2 separate regions of the Homo sapiens genome follow, and region 1 is linked to region 2. The links are contacts of gene promoters, found by promoter capture Hi-C in human tissues and cell types (Jung and others, 2019). All regions are on one chromosome and are shown on one strand. Each heading gives the region's core, a stretch centred on a gene start or on the middle of the fragment in contact. The rest is flanking DNA. Distances are from core to core; before and after follow the strand shown. Region 1 overlaps LINC02255 (long intergenic non-protein coding RNA 2255). Region 2 holds the start of CYP1A2 (cytochrome P450 family 1 subfamily A member 2).

The links. Contacts are between HindIII fragments. The study calls those that stand out against the background at their distance.
Region 1: a fragment that was not itself captured here is called in contact with the fragment with the promoter of CYP1A2 in region 2 in 1 of the 25 tissues and cell types used here (ovary).

Annotation. Positions count from the first base shown.
Region 1 is chr15:74,388,157-74,390,856 of GRCh38, reverse strand. LINC02255 (long intergenic non-protein coding RNA 2255) reads right to left here. Exons shown (of 4, transcript NR_146881.1): 3 at 1-338. Among named protein-coding and RNA genes, the nearest start is that of LINC02255, 10 kb to the right of the region's middle. RefSeq lists enhancers at 2,122-2,662, 2,663-2,700. The HindIII fragment of the contact is 9,087 bases long and covers 1-2,700 here.
Region 2 is chr15:74,747,560-74,750,259 of GRCh38, reverse strand. It overlaps CYP1A2 (cytochrome P450 family 1 subfamily A member 2), which reads right to left and starts at 1,415. Exons shown (of 7, transcript NM_000761.5): 1 at 1,363-1,415; 2 at 1-530. The coding sequence starts at 521. RefSeq lists promoters at 522-1,659, 1,325-2,700. The HindIII fragment of the contact is 12,167 bases long and covers 1-2,700 here.

The sequences.
Region 1 (2,700 bases), core at 28-2,527, 360 kb after region 2:
TGATCTCTTCATCTATCTTGGGTACCGGTTTGGTTTCCTTGAATGCTTGAGGTTCCTTTCACTCTCACGGACATATGACAGAGTTCTTCCATCTCCCGTCACAGGCACTTCATGCAGGGCCCCACGCTACCATCGTGGGCTTCCTCATTCTTGCTTTGAAGGTCATGACCTCCTGGAGGCCCAGGAAGGGACATGAACCCTAATCCCCCTGGCTGGACCATTGGCTCCCTGAAGGCAGGAACCAAGTCCCAAAGCTTCATTCCCCATTTCTTTTCAGAGCCGACTCAGTCCTGGTGCCTAGGGGTGGATGGTGGGGGTCATCCCAGGAGGCACAGGTCCTGTAAGAAAGGAAGTAGCACCTACTGAGCTTTTGTTTGTTTGTTTGTTTTTGTTTTTGAGGTGGAGTCTCACTCTGTCACCCAGACTGGAGTGCAGCAGCGCGATCTTGCCTCACTGCAAACTCCACCTCCCGGGTTTAAGCTGTTCTCCTGCCTCAGCCTCCTGAGTAGCTGGGATTACAGGCGCACGCCACCACATCCAGCTAATTTTTTGTGTTTTTAGTAGAGACGGGGGTTTCGCCATGTTGGCCAGGCTGGTCTTGGACTCCTGACCTCAAGCAATCTGCCCACCTTGGCCTCCTAAAGTGCTGGGATTACAGGCGTGAGCCACCTTGCCTGGCGTTTGGATGAGCCAGGCTCTAGCACCATCTCCCCCACTCCTTTACAGGAACCCTCTGAGGACGATGTTACTGTCAGCACCCCCATTTTACAGGTGAGGGAATGAAGGTGACATAGCTGGCTTCCAGCCCTCATCTCTGAGCCCAGAGCCTGTACGCTGTACACTCGAGCAGGCAGAGACTGCACAAGCAGAGAGCAGGCCTCTGTGGGTCACGACAGGGGAGCCAGGTCAGCCCCGTCACGCATGGGCCCCCAGCACTGGCTGGCAGCCCCCCTCGGGGGCCAATCCCGAGTCCCCACTGGGAGGTCCAGCAGTGAGTGCTCCATGGTGCCCTGGTGACGGGGGGGGCCTGTGAGGCAGGCCGTGAGCCAAATGTCCCCACACAGCCTATCTCAGGCCACTCACAGAAAAGGAAAGAAAATATCTTGAGATCTTTTCTGGCCTTATCAGCCCCACACAGAGGCCCCGCTGTGGTGTGGTAACAGGGTCCGTGAGTGTGTGCTCAGATAAGCGCCAGGCGTTTCTGAGAACCTGCAAGGCACCGTCCTGAGTTCCCCCTCTCTAGAACATTCTTCTTCCACATGCTGCACAACTGGTTCCCTTAGGTCCTCAGGGCATATTCTTAGAGAGGCCCTCCTTGACCAGCCTTCTCAACCCCTTGCCCTCCCCTCCTGCCTCCAGCTTCGTCTCCCTCCTGGACACTCCCCGTCTCTGGGAGCCTCCTGCGGGTTCCTGGCTGGTGTCTGTTTTCCCAGCATGAGGGAAGCTCCTGGAGGGCAAGAGGCACATCTGTCTGGGCCTCGGGATCCTGGTGCTGCTCAGTAATGTCCATTGCCAGAGTGAGGCAGGGAAGGAGGTCTCAGCCCTAAGGTGTTCTTGGCATAGGGCCTGGCCTATGCGTGTATTTTATCTAATCCCTCTAACGACTTTACAAGGCAAAATTTATTATCTTCATTTCATAAATGAAGGAGCTCAGAATATAAAGCAGCTTGTGGGAGATCACAGAGAGTGTTAGTGGAAATTTGAACCAGGGGGGTCTGTGAGGCTCCAAAGAGGTGGGTGATGCCCCCTGAGCTGAAGGGGTGGGGCAGGAGACCCGTCCTAGCCTGGGCTCAGCTGCAGCCTCGCTCTGGGACTGTGGGCCGCAGGCTTCTCTTTGTATACTGGGGCTGGGGTCGCTCCCTGAGCTAAGATCCTGGCTCCAATGGAAGAAAGGTGATTTGCAGTGAGGGGGGTGAGGGGGCTTGGAGCCTCGGAGGAAGGGGTTGAAGCTGGGTAGGGAACAAGGGGCAGGATCCTCCTGAGGTGCCAGCATGGGAAACCGTGGGGGAAGGGCTTGGCCACAGGAATGAACTCAAAAAAGGGATCGAAGCACCCTGAGCTCCGAGCTGGATGCACAGGTGGGTGAGCCTTGGAAGCAGGAGGGACCTCCAGGGGGAGGGCACAGCAGCCGCATCCAGGCTGGGTGTCCCTGGGCCACAAGCTCAGCCTCTCTGTGGCTTTCCCAGCTTCAAGCAGAAGCTCAACCCTGGGAGAAGCGCTCTCTCGGGTTCCCCTGCTCCTAGCCCCAAGGACCCAGCCTGCTAGGTCCCACCAGCCCTGAAGCTAGGTCCACAGGTGCATATGGGCTCCCTCGGCTGCTGGCTTCCTGCCCAGCCCTCCTTCGGCAGCGCTCACTGGCTGGAGAGCAGGGGTCTCCTGAGGGGTGGGGCAGGGGCCAGGGCTTGCCCTCTGATCCTACCCCTAACATTGCCTGGGCCCAGGGCAGGAGTAAAAATGGAGGCCCACATACTATATGTCTGGATATTTCAAAGTTATAAATCAAGCCAACAACCTCTAAATAGGATATGCTCTATCCTCCTACATTAGCAAATACACCTTCATAACACCCTGAGGACCAGGTTTGTACTTAGAATTCTTGGGCTCCTGGAATGCAGGACTGGAATGTGGCAGGCAGAGGCTGAGCCAACCCCAGCTCCCATCCCGGGCTCCCCCTTGGGCAGTGTGTGACCTTCCCAGACC
Region 2 (2,700 bases), core at 166-2,665:
CTGATCAGGGCCTTAGCCTCCTTGCTCACATGCTCCTCCAGGTAGCAGGAGGATGAGGAAGCTGGGTCAGAGGCGATGGAGAAGGTGTTGAGGGCATTCTGGGCCAGGCGCCGGCGGGCAGCCCACACCGGTCCAGAGTCTGTGCTGAAGGTCAAGCTCTGGCCATCAGTGATGAGGGTGGAGGTGTAGAGGTCAGGCCGGCCCTTGAAATCGTCGCCCTGCCGCACCAGGGCCTGCCGGATGGTGTCCAGGCGGCTCAGCACCAGCACGGGCGTGGAGCCAATGCGGATCTGCAGGACGTCCCCGTAGCGCTGGCTCATCCTTGACAGTGCCAGGTGCGGGTTCTTCCCCAGGGTCAGCACATGCCCGAGCAAGGGCCAGCCCCATGGCTCTGGTGGACTTTTCAGGCCTTTGGGGACCCGAGGCCTCAAACCCTTGAGCACCCAGAATACCAGGCAGAAGATGGCAGAGGCCAGGAGAAGCTCTGTGGCCGAGAAGGGAACAGACTGGGACAATGCCATCTGTACCAACTGCAGGGAAAAAAGGAGGGACCAGGCTGAGGGTTGAGATGGAGACATTCATTCATTCATTTCCTCAGTCATTTGATAAACACTGATGCGTGTTCTGTGCTTGGCTCCCAGCTGGATACCAGAAAGACTAAGCTCCATCTACCATGCGTCCTGGGCCCACAGAGCTCACCCTTTGAGCATCACAGAATCTGAGAGCTGGAAAGGAGCCTCAAGATTCCCAACATGAACGCTGGCTCTCTCCTCCACACATCATCTCAGTTTCCACTTCTGGGGCTGGAGTAGAGGCAAGTGACCACTCCAAAATGGGGAAGCCAAGGACAGCACCCTTGTCAGCCCCTGGCACAGCATGCATGCTGGGTATTGTACCAAAGAGTCCCTGCCAGTGCTGGCTTTCTGCTGATACCTTCCATATACCCAAGGGACCAGGAGTTCCCCCTACCCAGTGACACTGAGGTGGCCAAGGTCCCAGGGCTGGTTCAAATAGCCTGTGATGCCCCCTCCCCAGGGCATTCTTTATCAATACCAGGAGGGGCACCTCCTCCAGGGATGAGTCCCCATCCTCTCACAGTCTTGGAGGTTGGGGTTGGGCTTCAGCCAGGGCCAGGGCTGCCCTTGTGCTAAGGGGGAAGCCCTCCCCATCGCTCTCCTTAAAAATGGCTTAGTCCAAACTGCTCATTTAAAATCGGGAAACAGAAGTCAAGAGCTGGGTAGCAAAGCCCGGAACTCAGGACCCCTACACCTAGCCCAGGCTCCCCGTCTTTCTGTCCCCACTAGCTTCCAGGTTCTATAGTTGGGGATCCCAGAGATTGTAAATTGGTCCCAAGAAAGGTACCTGTAGAGGCAGGTGCTTGAGATTGGCAGGGTTGTAATGGCTGGTGTGGAGCTTCTGGCTCTAGGTGAGTGGCCTTTTTATAAACACCGCCCCCTATCAGATTGGCCTGGTTGTCCTGATCACCTGATATGAAAGCTGGATCACTGAACAAAGTTGGAAGGATCAACTCTTGGCCTTGGGCCATTATCCCTCAGCTCCACCTACTACCTAAGACCCAGGGTGACTCTTTGGGGATAGGCCAGAAGGGGTGCTGGGTCCCTGGGGATGAAGGTACAGCTGTCTTTAGGGTTCAGGGTAGGGAGCCTATTTCTCTGAAGAGTAGGGTAGGGTCTGGGAGTGGGGGTTAGGCCTTTGGACTGATCTGGGCTTCTTTCCCACTGCACACATGAGGAAGAGCTCTGCCAGGGCACTCAGTCTAGGCCAACCAGGCTCACGGCCCCTCTCCAGAGGGATGTTCTTCTGTAGTACCCTCCAACAACCTGCAAAACCAAACAGTAAATGGGCGTGTTCCAGCCACTCCTGATTTTCAGCCCAAGTCCCCAAGTGGAAAAGAAGAGATGATAAAGATTTTGCATCCTAAAGAGAGGCCCCCCTTATGCAAAAAGACTAAGAGACATAACCAAATGCAATATGGATTTGCATTTGATTGCCATATCGATTGGATATGGCATTTAAACAAAATTTTAAAAAAATCTATAAAAGATGTTTTGGGGACAATTGGGGACATGTAAGCACGGACTGGAGATTAGATGATATTCTGGAATAAATGTAAATTTTTTTAGGTGTGAACAGAGTGTCATGGTATGTGGGAGTGTATCCTTATTCTTAGGAGATTAATGCTGTAGCATGGAAGTGTCATGATCCCCACAACCTCCTTTTGAATGGTTCTGTTAAAAAATGTACACCTCTAGGCCAGGCGCGATGGCTCGCACCTGTAATCCCAGCACTTTGAGAGGCCGAGATGGGCGGATCACCTGAGATCAGGTGTTCAAGACCAGCCTGGCCAACCTGGTGAAACTCCGTCTCTACTAAAAATACAAAAATTAGCCAGGCATGGTGGCATGTGCCTGTGATCCCAGCTACTCGGGAGGCTGAGGCAGGAGAATGGCTTGAACTTGGGAGGTGGAGGCTGCAGTGAGCCAAGATCGTGCCACTCCACTCCAGCCTGGGCGACAGAGTGAGACTCCGTCTCAAAAAAAAAAAAAATGTACACCTTTAAAGAGTGTAATTGGATTGTTTGTAACTCAAAGGTTTATCCTTGCTTGAGGGGATGGATACTCCATTCTCCATGAATGCTTATTTCATATTGCATGCCTGTATCAAAACATTTCATGTACC